Linked DNA regions of Homo sapiens: regions 1, 3, 4, 5 and 6 are each linked to region 2. The links are contacts of gene promoters, found by promoter capture Hi-C in blood cells and fetal thymus (Javierre and others, 2016). All regions are on one chromosome and are shown on one strand. Each heading gives the region's core, a stretch centred on a gene start or on the middle of the fragment in contact. The rest is flanking DNA. Distances are from core to core; before and after follow the strand shown.

Region 1 (2,700 bases), core at 35-2,534, 2.0 Mb after region 2:
GGCTCACTGCAAGCTCCGCTTCCCGGGTTCACGCCATTCTCCTGCCTCAGCCTCCCGAGTAGCTGGGACTACAGGCGCCCGCCACCGCGCCCGGATAATTTTTTTTGTATTTTTAGTAGAGACGGGGTTTCACCTTGTTAGCCAGGATGGTCTCGATCTCCTGACCTCATGATCCACCCGCCTCGGCCTCCCAAAGTGCTGGGATTACAGGCGTGAGCCACCGCGCCCGGCCCAAAGTCAGTTTTTAACTTTACATTTAGCTATTAATATTCTTTTGAAAAATAGAGTAGCTACCACTTAGCCTTCTTTAGGCCTCTAGTAGTACATACTTAAGCTCAAATTTACAGAAAGCCCCTTTAGGGCAAAATGCTACCATAAAAGCAATGCATCTGAGTCAGAGAACCCAGCCATGTTCAACTTCTCCCACAACCTCTCCCACTAGGAAAGGGAGACAGAGCTCTGAGCCTCAGATCAATCAATGTGAGGAATGACCTGTCTTTATTCTGGTGGCTGGTGTTGAGCTGGAGGAAATGATTTGGTGGCCGAAATTCAGTTGTTTTTGCACATAAAAAAGTATTTTCCCCTCTAAAAAATATTTATTTAACTCTGTCAACCACCACACCAAGCACCACACCACGTCCTGTAACAGCTATCTTGTATTCGAATGACGCGAATGTGAAGCGTAATGTGTGGATTGTGAGGAACAAGCCCCCACCATGAATGTCTGCGAAGAAAAGGGAAAAAGACCTTTAATCTTTGCAGTGTATTAGGCCAAGTATGAAAGCTGACTACACACTATGCACTATGGAGGATGTGTCTGTGTGTATATCTGTGTGTGTGTCAAGGGGCTGATGTTTTTAAAATTGGTAACTGATTTTGCTATATTGACAGCTCCGGTTCCAACCATTATGATTTATTCTGCTGGCTTCATTAAGATATTGTCATCATAACTAAGGCTGGTATAGCATTTACTGTTCATAAAATGCTCTCATGCATGTCAAAATTTGCTCGTTTAACATATGTGTACTAAATACCAACCCTGTGCGAGGTTCTCGCAAGCTTCAGGAATACAAAGCTAAAAGACAAGGTATCCCATCTTTCAAAAAGCTTCACAGTCTGGGGAGGTGAAAGGGAAGCAAACCTCACAGCTGGATTTTAAAACAATGTTAGATGTCCCATGATAGAAGAATGAAGGGGCGCTAAGTAAAATGAAACACAGTAGCTCTGTTTCTGCTTGGAGGGACACAGCCAGGATCCAGGAAGGTGTAAGTAATCGAAAACTAAATAGCACATGATCTAGCAGAGAAGGGACATTTTCTGAAAACCACAGATCATTATGGGATACCACAGGCTCACTGAGTATCAGCAGGTGAGTCTGGTGAGGAAGTGTCAGGCAGAGGTGTCCTGGGCATATATGCCTAGTGTCACATAGGGAAGGTAAAAAATAAAGGTGATAAAAGGAAAGCTTACAAGCAGAGAAGGAGCAGAGTGTCCGCAATCCCCTGAACTCTCATTATCCCACAGTTTCGGCCCTGTGTAGATGGGCCACATGTCCATGGCTAACAGTGCAGTAGAAAGGGACCCTGCCCTACAATCCTGTAGGGAACAGGGAACATCTATGCACTTGGATGTCCCGTGGTCACAGAAGTAGCTTGATAGAAAGGGAGGGTCGGGTCTCTGCAGCCCAGAAACTGGCATCCACCTGTTCTAGTGGGCTAACTCTAACTTGCTGAGCCAACTTTCTACTCATCTACCAAAAACGGGAACATGAGCCTCCAGTACATCCAGATCTATTGCTTATAAGAGGAATGCAGAACAGGAACTGAATGAAGTCTCTTGTCCGCCGCAGCAAGGAGGTGATTCGAAACCACAGGTGTCAAGGAACAACCAACTGTTCTTGGGCAGAGAAGTAATAGGATATGATTTCTATTTTAAAGAGGTCACCAGCATTGTACAAGATAGGTGAAAGATAGGAGACCAGCAGGGAGCTATTGCAGAAGGTCAGACTAGGGGGTCTGACCCAGAGCAAAGAAGGTGGGGAGGGGCAGTCAGACTGGAGAGATGCCACACAGGGATGAAATGGACAGGACTTCAAGACTGCTTAGATGATGGGGATAGGGGTAAAAGAAGGAAAGAACAGAGTCTCATATTACCTGGTGTCTGACGGAGTGACAAGATGGACTGGGGAAGACAGAGTAAGGAGGGAGAGAAAAGTCAATAAGGCTACTTTTTTCAACTTATTATTTTGAAATAACTATAGATTCATAGGAAGTTGGAAACATAGTACAGAGAAGTTCCATGTACCCTTCACTTCATCTCCCCTAAAGGGGACATCTTACATAATTATAGCACAATATCAAAAGGAGACAATTGACACTGGTACAACACATGTGTAGTTGTCATTTGATCACACCAGTCAATTTACGTAACCACGAATTCAATTAAGATAAAAAACTATTTCATCACCACGAACATCTCCCTCATGCTACCCCTTCACAGTTACAGCCCCCTTCCCTCCACCACCCCTATTCCCTGGCAGCCACTAAGCTATTCTCCATCTCTACAATGTTGTTATCTTGAAGATGTCATGTAAATTGAATCATCCAGTATGTGACCTTGTGTGATTGGTTTGTTTCACCTAGCATAATGCTGGAAGTGCACCCAAGCTGTTGCATGTATCAATAGTTTGTTTTTTTATTG
Region 2 (2,700 bases), core at 123-2,622:
TTTGCAGACACACACACAAATACAGCCCAGAGTCAAGAAAATGGGGGAAAAGTAAAGTCTCAAAAAAGACGATGTTACCTCCAAGAAATGCAAAATACCTTCTTTTCTAGTAATGGGCACACTAAACTCTCCTAACGCTACATTATTTGAAAAAAGTGTAGTTTTGTGAAAGAATTCCAATCCCACTATTATCAGTTTTACAAAATGAGAGTAAAAACAGTCCTAAGGTAGAAAAAGAAAAGAATATTCTTCTAAGGATGGGATATATTGTTTAACTGTTGTTCTCCCATCCTATTACCTACCCGTAAAAATGAACTGTGAGAGTAGAGTCTATCATTTAATACACCCCTAAAAAAAGGGGAAAAATCTGTAAAAGTTGAAACTGGCCATTTTTATTTTTTCCAAAAGGATCTTTCCTTTATTGAGGAATTTCACTCCGGTTCAAGAAACAACTTTTTATCTCACAATGGCTTCTTAGATATACTATATAAAATACATTTACTTTGTAACTTCCTCCACCCTTTTCAAAAAGCACAACCAACGTCCCTACTCTAAAGCTGGACTCGAACCGAACTAGATTCAGAAAGTCTGTCCCTACGTGTGTGACCTTGGGCACGTCATATAATCCCTCGGTTTCCTCATCAGCATCCCAAAATGAAAGCGCTCTGAAAGCAGTAAAGGAGTAAAAACATACCTTAGGTATGACACCTAAGAGGGTCAAGTCTTTCTGTTTAAGGCAAAATTATCTCCTTAGAGGGCCACATCATTAAACTGGAACTGAATCCGTAGACCCCAACATTTGTCTCTTCCTTCTTCCAGTGCTCCTCTTCCCTCAAAGGGCATAACCCGAGTCACCCCCAAGAGCCGACTCCCAAGCACCCTTTCCTTCCTCCTCCCTTTTCTCTTACTTACAAAGCAGGGGGAAAACAGCAGCCTCACCTCTCGGTCCGAAGCCACACCTTCAAAGGACCCCACCCCAGGCACATCCGCCCTGTCCCCTCTCCCGGGGCACCAGGGGCCAACCTCGCCCTTCCCCTCCCGCCCCCACCTAGAGGAGACTTCCTGGAGGCGTTCGGGCCCAAGCCGGCAGGCGGCATTTACAAACCCGCTTTACGCCACTCGCGTAGGGTAACCTCGCTTACGCCCGTAGGGCCCCGCTCTCAGCCCCGTCCGCTCCGCCTGCCAGAACCAAGCCCAAGTGCCTCAGCCATGGCCCCTGCGTGACCCTAGACCTCTTCTGCTCGGTGCAGAGCTACGGGGACTGGGACAGAACAGCTACACCTTACCAGCAACTGAGGCACTGACTTCACTTCCCACCTTGCAGCCCTCTTCAACTCCCGGATCAATTCACTCCGGCGACGCCGGAAGGACCCAAGAGGAACCAGGCGTTGTCCGGAATCCTGCCCAGCCGGAGTCGTGCAGAGGCTTATGGGGACTCGTAGTCCCGCTCGCCGGCGTTGTCCGCAATTCCTGCAATCGGAAGACTACACTTCCCGGCAGGCCATGCGGGGGATCCTGAGGCGATGGGTGGTGACACTTCTAGCCAATAGTAGGAGAATTCCCTGCCTTTGCGGGAGGAGGTGAGATGAAGAGAGATGGTGCACGGAAAGGAGAGGAAGGGCGGGGCAAGCCCTCACCTGCGCCAATCAGGGTGCGGAGTAGGCCCCGCAGGCGCCTCACCCATTGAGGGGGCGGGCTGACAGAGCAGAGGAAGGAAGGGGGTGAGGGGCCTGTGGTGGGGATCCTGGGGCTGTCGGGCTGAGTATGCCGTGTGGGTGGAGAGGAAGCCTCGGGGAAATCGCCCAGGTGAAGGGAGGGCTTGGTGTGGGGACTTGCACTGGGCAGAGGGGCAGCTTCCCTGAGAGCAGCTAAGCCCCAGGCACACCGGGCATCCGGACACACAGGTCGGGGAAGGATAGGCTGAGCCGGGGCTCCCAGCAGAGACGCCTGGGTGGGGCAGGAGGCCGCTCCAGGTGTGAGCCACAGAGGAGGGGAGAGGGACCCCCACGGGAGTGGAAGTGGCAGAGCAGCTGCAGAAGTGCAGGGAGCGGAAAGGTACCAGGGCAGCTGCTTTCCGCTGCCTCCGGTCCGGGCAGCTGCAGAAACAGCAGGGGGAGGAGCAACAGCTGCCAAATTCGCCAACTAGAGGAGGGAGAGGCGGAGCTTGGGTCCCTGTAGAAGCCAGAGGCGCAGTCTGGACTGTAGTTTCCCGGGAGAGACGAAAGCAGGAACGAGAGCGGAGCGGAGCACAGTCCGCCGAGCACAAGCTCCAGCATCCCGTCAGGGGTTGCAGGTGTGTGGGAGGTAAGCGTGGGTCCTTCTTCGGGGCGTCTGCACTGCCCTGGAGAAAACGTCTTCCAATAGGAATTACATCAAGACACAGCTAAAAGAGTCCGCGTTGGGTTAGGAAACCGGTGCAAAACCTCTCGGGTGAAAGATTTACATTTTTCGACTTTAAGGGCAAAAAAGCAAAAGGAAGCTTGACTCTGGGTATAAAGGGCGTGGTTAGTGTTTTTGGTTTGAGTTGCACCAGTAAAACTGTTCTGGGAGATCTGAAGATTGAGAAAAATCCTGCTAATTGAGGACGAGGTGGATGTTATCTGGTGGATGTTATAGGTGCGTAGCCTATAAAAAGCAAAAATTTTGCTATTGATATAGAATAACTTCTGAACTATTTCACTAGGAAAATAACTTTGCATT
Region 3 (2,700 bases), core at 49-2,548, 2.1 Mb after region 2:
ATGCCACAAGGCAGTATATGAAAATTGACAAATGTGTGATTAAGCCGATATAACAGCTCACCCTGTTTCATTCTTAATCAAGTCCATTTTTTTAAATGGAGTTGGTGCTTGAACTTAACCTTGAGGCCCAGATTGAATTTACATAGATAGTGAGGAGGGCATATGTACAAAAGAGAAACCGCTTGAGTAAAGGTATGGTGGTTGGAATGTAATTTCTGGGAATGGTAAGTACATTAGTCTACCTCAGGGGTTTAGTTTTGTTTTAAAGATAATGTAGATTTTTTTTTCCTTCCATTCTAGGTGCAGATAAAACTCTAGACTCCAGTGCAGAGGATCATACTTTGAGTGAACAGGATTCCATACAAAAAAGTCCTTTATCAGAAACTATGGATGTGAAGCCTTCTGATATGACTTTACCATTAGCTCTTCCACTTGGGACTGAGGACCATCACATGCTTCTGCCTGTCACGGATACTCAGTCTCCTACATCAGATACATTGTTGAGGTCAACTGTGAATGGGTATTCAGAACCACAGTTGATTTTTTTACAACAATTATACTGACTTTGTAAGGAATATGGAATTGCTAAGATATCATTGGTAGCAAACATCTCTGGTAAGGTGCATATATTCATATTAAATTCCCATTCATTTGAGTTGTGACCATTATTTTTCATTCACTGAAGTAAAAGCACCTGATGCTGCATCACAACTGCAATGTTTGTTTTTATTTTTGGCTTTATGTCTATACTCCACAGAGAGCTTTTTAAGTAATGAATTATGTAGCACTATTTTGGGTGGATGAGTTTTATTTTCTTTTAAAGCTGCCTTAATTCCATTTTTATTTTGCATTTTAGAATTGCCCTTCATTTACTAAATCAGCCAGTTAATGTGATTCAGTTGTGACCTGTGGGATTTTAAAATTTTCCTGCCCTCATAATTTAAGCAAAATCCACGATAGTATCAGCCCAAGAGTGTGTTGCTATTTGTAAGCCCCATGGATCAATACATAAACTATGCATAAAAATAAAATTTCATATTTTCGCTCGTAAAAATTTAGGCGCTGAATAAGAATTGTGCTATTTCTCTATTAATATATTGTTAGAAATAACTTTTCTAATGAAACAAAAATGTTTCTCAAAATCTAGAAAAGTGCATATAAATTTTTGTTCATTTAGAACTGAGTATTCTGGAGAAAACCAATGGTCAGCACTTTTGGTTTGAGTTATCTGAGATTGTATTTTCAAAATGAATTTTAAGTAGATATTTGGTGTTTTTATCTTGTCAAAGACAGTTTCAAAATTTGATTCAGTTTATGTTTTATTCCGTTCTAAAATATTGGAGATGAGGAAAATGTACTTGAGTTTTGAAATATTTTGGTAAGCCTCTCTTACTCCTGTTATGCACTTTTTAAAATAAATACTGAATTCCAGAAAGAATTTTCTAGATATAAACTTAATGCATACTAGAAATCACTTGGCTTCTAAATTTGGTACATTATATTGCATAAAGAGTTAAGAAATTAACCTCAATTATAAGTAAACATTTTGAGTTACCAGAAAGCCAACTATAGTTAAATATTTTATATCTGAGTTTTCTATAAGTTTGGGGTTTGTTAATTTTATAAATTAAACCACAACTTTTGGTGGTGGTTGTAGTTTCACAATGGTCCTTTTCCTTCCAAATGAATGTAGAAAATTCGTTATTATCCTGATATTTGCACCACTCATCCCCATGCCACTTTTCCCACATATTAATTTATTTCACTGCCTGATCTTTGGATATGAAATTATGAGTTCCACAAAGTCAATTTTTATAGTGCCAATCAAACAGCATGGTGATATTCTTTTTCTTTTTTTTTCCCCCCACAAGGCTGTTGTTCAGTGTGAGATGACATCATTTCTTATTTCTGCCATGCTGTGGCTTTTTTGTGTTCTGCTTTTAAACTACACCTGTAGTACAGTTAATATGTTTTTTATTGGTATTGATTTCTTTAATTCATTAATTTTCTCTATTTGGGACCCAAGTCATAAGAACCAATTAGAGGACATAATAAAAACACTTAATGCTTGTAGTCTGTAGAGATCTTCACCATTTCACAGCACACACATTATTTTCATAATAAATTGCCACTGGTGGGACATGGGACTGACTTATTTGAATAGAGTTTGAAATACCACCTTTGTATGATGCAAACAATATTTGATTATTTTATCTAAGAAATCTATGCATGTGTATCAAGTTAAAATAGTGGGTTTAAATACAATTTACAAAGCATTAGAATGTTACCTAATCTCTTCTGGGTTAAATGTGATAGGAATGTATTGGAATGTGAAGAAATTATAGAAAATTAAAAGACTCAGCCTCTTTAGGAAGTTTGCTAAAATGGAGAGGTTATGTTTAATTTATTTATATCTTCGTTAATCCAAGCATCTAATGAACAAAAAACTGCTACAGTGACGTCATAATTCTATAAGGGCAATAGTTGCCAAATTTCCTCTGGTATTATTAGCATTCTGCCTTTGCATAGATTAGCCTTCAAATTTATTATTTTTAGTATTATTTGATACGATTGAAGTGGCTAAGATTGATTGAGCTTTTCTTGATCACATTTTCTGCTTCTTAGCTAAAGTAATTTTATTTAAATTGACATGGCTTGAGTTGTCATCATTTTCTGCTCTTCTAGAATGATGTGTAGAGA
Region 4 (2,700 bases), core at 86-2,585, 2.1 Mb after region 2:
AGTGCTGGGATTATAGGCGTGAGCCACTGCAGCCTAAAATGTATTTTCAAAAGTAAAAAATTATATGAATAAAGTAATATTTGTTTAATTAAAGTGAACATGATCTTTTTCTAAAAATTCCATACAGTTTAAGATGAGTTATATAGATGGAAGTTTAGGAATATTTTTATTAAGTATTTTTCTATGTTATTTACTATAGTCTGATTTTATTAATAATCTGCACTATTATGTCTAGGGGAAAAACACCTTTTCTCTGATATTAGACATAAGAGGCAAAATTAATCATTCATAAGACTCTGATTTAGCTGTTCTCTAATGACCCACTATCTGGATGATTTTCTCATAACCAGTTTACTCACCAGATCACAGTCACCCAGATCTAATTTCTCTAATGATGAATTAATTTGCAGCATTGCAGCAAAAAACATTCCACCTTTATTTTCAATTTTGTTTCCAGTCATTCTTAGGTATTTCAGAGTCCGATTCTTCTGAAAAGGAAAAAAAACTTATTTAATAATTGTTAATCCACAGAATTCTATATATTACATGAATTAGGAGACTGTATTACTATTTGCAGACTCCAATTTTCATGGAGCTAGAACACGATATATATTTTTTTTGAGACAGAGTCTCGCTCTGTCGCCCAGGCTGGAGTGCAGTGGTGTGATCTCGACTCAATGCAAACTCCACCTCCTGGGTTCACAGCATTCTCCTGCCTCAGCCTCCCAAGTAGCTGGGACTATAGGCACCCACCACCACGCCTGGCTAATTTTTTTCTGTATTTTTGGTAGACATGGGGTTTCACCATGTTAGCCAGGATGGTCTCGATCTGACCTCGTGATCTGCCCAGCTCGGCCTCCCAAAGTGCTGGGATTACAGGCATGAGCCACCGCGCCCAGCCAGAAGAGGATATATACCTTAAAGGTAACATTCAATCTACCATAATAGATAAAAATCTAGTTTAACAGTTGAGTAGAAAGAATGCCCAAGAAACAGATGCCCAAGCAATAACCAGTAAATAAAACATATATTAATAAACTTTCACTGGAAAAATCTGTAAATTTATCTTAAGAAAATTATAGCACTTCACTTTTTTAAATTGAGGTGAAATTCACATAACATAAAACTGACCATTTTAAAGTATACAATTCAGTAGCATTTAGTACATTCACAATATTGCACAGTCATCACCTGTAGCTAGTTCCAAAACATTTTCATCATCCCCGAAGCCGGTCCTATACCATTAACCAGTCACTCCCCATTCCTCCTATATCACTTTTAAAGTAATATAATTTGATAAATATTTCACAAAATCACAGACATTTCATCATTCTAATGAGTAACTATTAGGACATATAATAGTGTAAATAATTATCACGATTCAAACCCCTCTGAGATCAGGAAGAAGAAAAGGATGTCCTCTCACCACTTCTATTTAACATTGTACTGGAGGTTCTAGCCAGAGAAATTAGCCAAGAAAAACAAAAAGAAAAACCATACAAATTGGAAATGAAGTGAAACTCTGTATGTGACACCATCTTGCATAGGGAAAATCCTAAGGATTCCACCAAAAAAACCTGTTAGAACTAACACAAGAGTTCAGCAACATAGCAGGACACAAGATCAATATACAAAAACAGCTGTATTTCCATATGCTAACAATGAACAACCTAAAAATGAAATTAAGAACAACAGTTCCACTTACAATAGCATAAAAAAAAGTTAGGAATAAATTTAACAAAAGAAATGTAAGATTTGCACATTGAAAACTACAGAGCATTGCTGAAAGAAATGAAAGGCCTTAAATAAATGAAACATCTTATGTTCGAGGTTTGGAAGACTTAAGATGGCAATACTCCCCAAGGTGATCTACAGATTTACTGTAATTCCTATTAAAATCCCAGCTGCTGGCCGGGTGAAGTGGCTCATGCCTGTAATCCCAGCACTTTGGGAGGCCGAGGTGGGCAGATAATCTGAGGTCGGGAGTTTGAGACTAGCCTGACCAGCGTGGAGAAACCCTGTCTCTACTAAAAGTACAAAATTAGCCAGGCATGGTGGTGCATGCCTATAATCCCAGCTACTTGGGAGGCTGAGGCAGGAGAATTGCTTGAACCTAGGAGGTGGAGGTTGTGGTGAGCCAAAATCGCGCCATTGCACTCCAGCCTGGGCAACAAGAGCAAAACTCCATCTCAAAAAAAAAAAAAAAAAAAACTCCCAGCTGCTTTTCTTGCAGAAATTGATTAACTGACCTAAAATTCATATGGAAATGCAAGGGACACAGAAGAGCCAACACAATCCTGAAAAAAGAACAAGGACACATTTCTTGATTTTAAAACCTACTACAAAGCTATAGTAATCAAGATAGTGTGGTACTGGCATAAGGATAGACATACAGATTAAAAGAATAGAATTGAGAGTACAGAAATAAACTCCTGTAATGATGGTTAGCTGATTTTTGGACAAAACTGTCAAGACAGTTCAATGGGAGAAAGAATAGTCTTTTAACAAATGGTGTTAGGACACGTGGATATACACATGCAAAAGAATAAAGTTGGATTCCTACCTCATACCATATTCAAAAATTAAAATGGATCAAAGAAAGAGCTAAAACTGTAAAACTCTTAAAAAAACATAAATCTTTGTGACTGGGTTTTCAAGATGAACCTTGAAAACATTAAGCCAGTCCCAAAAGGCCACATA
Region 5 (2,700 bases), core at 26-2,525, 2.1 Mb after region 2:
AACAACTATAATCAAATAATAGGTCTGCTTTACCTGGCCATGGACACCAGTCTCATGTGTTCCCTATAAATTATAAAAGTCCTGGGCCTTACGGATTTATTTTTAAAAATCTTTTTTTTTTTTTTTTTGAGATGAGCTCTCGCTCTGTTGCCCAGGCTGGAGTACAATGGCGCCATCTCAGCTCACTGCAACCTCCACCTCCCAGGTTCAAGCGATTCTCCTTCCTCAGCCTCCCGAGTAGCTGGGACTATAGGTGCCTGCCACCACGCCCGGCTAATTTATGTATTTTTAGTAGAGGCAGGGTTTCACCATATTGGCCAGGCTGGTCTCAAACTCCTGACCTCATGATCTGCCCACCTCAGCCTCCCAAAGTGCTGGGATTACAGGCGTGAGCCACTGTGCCCGGCTGCTAAAAAAATCTTTTATTTGATTTTTTATTTCTAGAACTTTTTTCCCCAAATTGCTATGGGGTTTTAAAGCTGCCTTTCAGGAAGTAAACATTTTGATGGTAACTTGTAGATTTAGGTCGAGATTCTAGGACTTAATCTCCACTGATGTAGCAACTCACCTTGGAGGATTTTTGAGGTTCCGTGAGAGCCCGGCCCTGAACTATTCCACTGCTGATGTAAGAAATTCCTTTTAGTGGACTAAGTCAGTCATTCTGCAGTTGGAGTGAAAGACTTAAAATATAAAGTACATGTGGGAGGGATAACACATTATACTGAGCCATGAATAATACCTAATCCTTTTCTGAGAGAAATTTTAAGAAATCAAAGGAGCAAATCACACACAGACTGCTTGTTAACAAAAATAAGCTTCATCCAATACCAAGTTTTAGCACAAGTCAAACTGCACTGAAATGTAGACATGTTAAATATTATTGTATTGAACATGACAATCTCTGTGTACCAGTGCTTTTTCCTCTTCAGTTATTCTGATGGGTTTTGTGTGTGTGTGTGCATTTGTCCTCCCTTCTCAATTTCCTCTTATGCTAATACCACCTTCCAATGCATTTCTCTCCTCAATGAAACATGGCCTTTAAGCCAGCTCATTATCTCTCCCTCCCCAAAGACTCAACTCATGGGTTACTAGCTCTTAAAGCCTAACCAGTAGCTTCTACTTGCCTGTGTGCATGCAAAAAATATCTGATTTTCAATGTGTACCTAGATGGATTTTATTTGTAGAGTATACTTCTATTAAAGGAGAAAAGCAGGCCACGTGCGGTGACTCACGCCTGTAATCACAACACTTTGGGAGGATGAGGCGAGTGGATCAACTGAGGTCAGGAGTTTGAGACCAGCCTGGCCAACGTGGCGAAACCCCATCTCTACTAAAAATACAAAAATTAGCCGGGCATGGTAGTGGGCACCTGTAATCCCAGCTACTCGGGAGGTTGAGGCAGGAGAATCGCTTGAACCCAGGAGGCAGAGGTTGCAATGAGCCAAGATTGTACCATTGCCGTCCAGCCGAGGCAAGAAGAGTGAAACTCCGCCTCAAAAAAAAAAAAAGAAAAAGAAAAAGGAAAAAACCAAAACAATGTACCAGATCCCAAAATGGCTATATGTCAGTTACAGTGTCATCAGTAATTGTCCTCATCTAATGCTCTACAGATTTTCTATACATCTAGATTTCTTCTCATTATACTTTACTATGACTATGATGAAACTAACTACTGGATCTTAAATACTCCTAAAAAAAATTTTTGAACATTCAATGTGCTTTGAAAAAGAAAAGCTAAGCTTTTATGAGTTAAGTGAACAGCAATAAGAATGAAATTTCTAGGTTATAATAAAATGGTTAGATTGAAAAATCTTTTTTCATTGTTTTGGACTGCACAGAATGCAGGCATTTTGTATTGAAGACATCTAAGTGCTTGATGAAGAATTTTGAAATAGCCAAAGAGGAAAGCTTAAACATCAGTTTCTCCAAAGATTGACTTCATCTAATTAAAATAAATAGGTAAATAAATAAAACTGGAAAACTGTTACAGCATTTTTAGGAAAATGAGTCCTTACTCTACACAAAAAAGAGAAAAATGCATTATGGAAGATTCCAAGTATGTGAAACTTTTACAGATAGGTTGTCCTCAGTGAACTTTCTTTTTCTCCAACTGTAAGTGACCCATTCACCAATTACCTGTCTATTCCACCCATCCATAGAGAGGTGGGGGTGGGAGTGGCTCAGCTGAGCTCTAGCCAGAATGAAAGTAGGGTGGCTGACTAGGGAATGGATGGGAAGAATGCCCATGGGCTCAAGCAGGGAACTGTGGGGAAGGATTTCCCAGTTAGGAATTAAGCCAGATAAAGGAACATATGAGTTAAGGAGCTGTTGAGCTATATAGCTGGGATTTTTTTCTACGAGAAAATAAGGCATCTCTGTAACACAGTCAATAGGGTGATTGTCACATATTTTAAGAATGAGATTTTTTCGCCGGGTGCGGTGGCTCATGCCTGTAATCTCAGCACTTTGGGAGGCCTAGGCGGGCGGACCACGAGGTCAGGAGATCGAGACCATCCTGGCTGACATGGTGAAACCCCGTCTCTACTAAAAATACAAAAAATTAGCCGGGCGTGGTGGTGGGCGCCTGTAGTCCCAGCTACTCGGGAGGCTGAGGCAGGAGAATGGCGTGAACCCGGGAAGCGGAGCTTGCAGTGAGCCGAGATCGCGCCACTGCACTCCAGCCTGGGCGGCAGAGCGAGA
Region 6 (2,700 bases), core at 1-2,500, 2.0 Mb after region 2:
GGAACTAAGTTGTAATACAACCATAAAAGGCAACAAAAAGCGGAAGACGGGAGAACCCACGCAGGAACGGCTCCAGGCAACCCCGGCTCACTGCCCATTCATTTTGGCCGACTTTGGAGGTGCCTTCACGTCTCCTGCCAATTTGCAGCACACTGGCCCAGTCAGTCAGGTTTGGGGGTTCACAAGCCCCCATTGCCGGCGAGGGGTGACGGATGCGCACGATCGGCGTTCCCCCCACCAACAGGAAAGCGAACTGCATGTGTGAGCCGAGTCCTGGGTGCACGTCCCACAGCTCAGGGAATCGCGCCGCGCGCGGGGACTCGCTCCGTTCCTCTTCCTGCGGCCTGAAAGGCCTGAACCTCGCCCTCGCCCCCGAGAGACCCGCGGCTGACAGAGCCCAACTCTTCGCGGTGGCAGTGGGTGCCTCCGGAGAAGCCCCGGGCCGACCGCGGCCTCCAGGCGGGGTTCGGGGGCTGGGCAGGCGACCCGCCGCAGGTCCCCGGGAGGGGCGAACGGGCCAGCAGCTGACATTTTTTGTTTGCTCTAGAATGAACGGTGGAAGGCGGCAGGCCGAGGCTTTTCCGCCCGCTGAAAGTCAGCGAGAAAAACAGCGCGCGGGGAGCAAAAGCACGGCGCCTACGCCCTTCTCAGTTAGGGTTAGACAAAAAATGGCCACCACCCCTCCCAGGCCCACCCTCCGCAACCCGGTGCGCTGCCGGGCGAGTCGGCTTATAAAGGGAGCGGCCGCCGACCGCACGGATTGGCCAAGCTGACTCTCGCGGCTCTCGTGAGAGTCACTCTCTCGGGCGGGCTGGTTGGGGGGAACGGGAAATTAAAGTTCCATTTCCGGCCATGAGGAAGGACGTTGCCCTTCCGCACGTCCGGGAAAGGCTTTGCGTCTTTACTTCCGACCTTCTTTAAAGGTGAAACTAACTTGAGGTATCAGAGGGCCTTTTTTCTATCCTCTGCAGACCAGACGCGGTTCACCTCGACTACCTTAAAAATGGAATTCACAGGAAGATTTTAGGGCCTAAGACACAGAACACTAATTCCTAGTTTTGATCATCACATTTTTTGGAGAACTTTGTGAAAATAGATTCCCAGGCAGCACTGACTACAGCAGAATCTTGTCTCGGCTCAGTGGGATGCGTCCGAGTTCCTACCCTGCCCCCTTCTCCTTAGAATGCCTTCTCCAGCCTCTCCTTGAGCAGAGGATGGCTTTAATCAAGTGTAACTACTACATTATTAATCTTAAGGACTGAATCTCCCTTTTATTAGGAAAGAAAGGCGTTTCAATCATTGACTTTGCTTTAAAGTAGTGCTGTGTCTTGATGAGGTAAAAAGAGGGGAGTAATCCACCATAAATTGTAACGATTTTTTTTTTTGAGACGGAGTCTTGCTCTTTCGCCCAGGCTGGATGGAGTCTAGTGGCGTGATCTCGGCTCACTGCAACCTCTGCCTCCCGGGTTCAAGCGATTCTCGTGTCTCAGCCTCCTGAGTAGCTGGGATTACAGGCGCCTGCCACCACGCCCAGCTAGTTTTTGTGTTTTTAGTAGAGACGGGGGTTTCACCATGTTGCCCAGGCTGGTCTCGAACGCCAGGGCTCAAGTGATCCACCCGCTTCGGCCTCCCAAAGTGCTGGGATTACAGGTATGAGCCACCGCACCCGGCCGCGAATTTTTATAATGGCCAGTATAGTGCAGTTTTACATATAAATGACAGGATGATCTTAAAAGTTTTACTCGTATTCAGTTAGATAAACTCCGTGGAGTTGTCGCTGTCGGTCCTCGATCTGAAAGAAAAGTAAAATATCTCCCTCTCCATCTCTCTCCCTCCTTCTCTCTCTCCCATCCCCTTTTTCTTTCATAGCATCTGCCAGGTTGTAAAGTTTTTTACGGACAGAATCTGACTCCTGTTTTTAGCACTATTGCACTTAGCACAGTACCTTACATAGAGTAGATGCTAAATGCTTTGAGTTATATGTCAACACTACCACCATTCTCTTAGCATCCCACATTATCTCAAACCCTTCTTTCCCCTTCATATCTAAGTAGGCACTAAATCTTGTCAGTTTTCATAATTTCTTTTTTTAAATTCCTATTGCTTATAATCTTGAGTACAAGACTTGGCACTTTATATGTGGACTAGTAACTTTCTAACTGATCACCAAATCTCCAGGGCCTTCCTCATTCAATTTATTCTCCAAACTATCACATTCATCATAACATAGTTTCCTTATGGCTCCTGCTTTTAAATCTTTAATTTCTCTCCTTTGCATATTGGATATTTAGCACTTTAAGCCTTTCAGTCCCTGGCCTTCACTTAACCTTGCTAGTCATAGCGCTTGTTCTGCTCTATATGAGCTCTTGACTTGAACAAAATCAGTCTAAACTTAGGCGTGGTGGTGCATACCTGTGGATTCAGTTACTTGGGAGGCTGAGGGCAGAGCCCAGGAGTTGGAGGCTGCAGTGAGCTATGATTGCACTACTGCACTCCAGCCTGGGACACAGGGCAAGACTCTGCCTCTAAAACTAAATAAATGAATAAATACATACATAAACAAAAATTTTAAAAACAAAATCAGTCTATTAAACATGCCCTGAATATGCTTTGTTCATTCTCATCTTTAGCAACTTGTTCATTTTAGTATGCTTGCCTGGATATCTGCGCTCCATCCCAATGCCACCCCTTCCATGATGG

Evidence for each region. Contacts are between HindIII fragments. The CHiCAGO score rates a contact against its expected background, and 5 or more counts as called.
Region 1: a contact is called between a fragment that was not itself captured here and the fragment with the promoter of PDCD10 in region 2, in 1 of 17 cell types (fetal thymus). The highest score is 6.0, in fetal thymus.
Region 3: a contact is called between a fragment that was not itself captured here and the fragment with the promoter of PDCD10 in region 2, in 2 of 17 cell types (total CD8 T cells and total CD4 T cells). The highest score is 8.1, in total CD8 T cells.
Region 4: a fragment that was not itself captured here is called in contact with the fragment with the promoter of PDCD10 in region 2 in 1 of 17 cell types (activated CD4 T cells); the score reaches 5.9 in activated CD4 T cells.
Region 5: a fragment that was not itself captured here is called in contact with the fragment with the promoter of PDCD10 in region 2 in 1 of 17 cell types (naive CD8 T cells); the score reaches 5.8 in naive CD8 T cells.
Region 6: a fragment that was not itself captured here is called in contact with the fragment with the promoter of PDCD10 in region 2 in 9 of 17 cell types (naive CD8 T cells, non-activated CD4 T cells, total CD4 T cells and 6 more); the score reaches 26.5 in naive CD8 T cells.

What each region holds. Positions count from the first base shown.
Region 1 is chr3:169,745,313-169,748,012 of GRCh38, forward strand. No RefSeq gene overlaps it. Among named protein-coding and RNA genes, the nearest start is that of ACTRT3, 23 kb to the right of the region's middle. The HindIII fragment of the contact is 358 bases long and covers 1,106-1,463 here.
Region 2 is chr3:167,733,520-167,736,219 of GRCh38, forward strand. PDCD10 (programmed cell death 10) reads right to left here and starts at 1,373. Exons shown (of 9, transcript NM_007217.4): 1 at 1,143-1,373; 2 at 695-831. SERPINI1 (serpin family I member 1) reads left to right here and starts at 2,202. Exons shown (of 9, transcript NM_001122752.2): 1 at 2,202-2,304. RefSeq lists a silencer at 1,005-1,134 and an enhancer at 1,185-1,624. The HindIII fragment of the contact is 6,113 bases long and covers 1-2,477 here.
Region 3 is chr3:169,786,116-169,788,815 of GRCh38, forward strand. MYNN (myoneurin) reads left to right here. Exons shown (of 8, transcript NM_018657.5): 8 at 301-2,700. The coding sequence ends at 563. Among named protein-coding and RNA genes, the nearest start is that of MYNN, 14 kb to the left of the region's middle. The HindIII fragment of the contact is 8,036 bases long and covers 1-2,700 here.
Region 4 is chr3:169,803,694-169,806,393 of GRCh38, forward strand. It overlaps LRRC34 (leucine rich repeat containing 34), which reads right to left. Exons shown (of 11, transcript NM_001172779.2): 6 at 360-488. Among named protein-coding and RNA genes, the nearest start is that of LRRIQ4, 7.8 kb to the right of the region's middle. RefSeq lists an enhancer at 2,463-2,607 and a cis regulatory region at 2,535. The HindIII fragment of the contact is 6,759 bases long and covers 1-2,700 here.
Region 5 is chr3:169,824,898-169,827,597 of GRCh38, forward strand. All of the region lies in intron 2 of LRRIQ4 (leucine rich repeats and IQ motif containing 4), which reads left to right. Among named protein-coding and RNA genes, the nearest start is that of LRRC34, 13 kb to the left of the region's middle. The HindIII fragment of the contact is 924 bases long and covers 814-1,737 here.
Region 6 is chr3:169,764,355-169,767,054 of GRCh38, forward strand. ACTRT3 (actin related protein T3) reads right to left here. Exons shown (of 2, transcript NM_032487.5): 2 at 2,567-2,700. It also overlaps TERC. Among named protein-coding and RNA genes, the nearest start is that of ACTRT3, 3.9 kb to the right of the region's middle. RefSeq lists enhancers at 87-176, 335-874, a silencer at 387-646 and promoters at 638-1,504, 638-1,142. The HindIII fragment of the contact is 3,023 bases long and covers 1-2,700 here.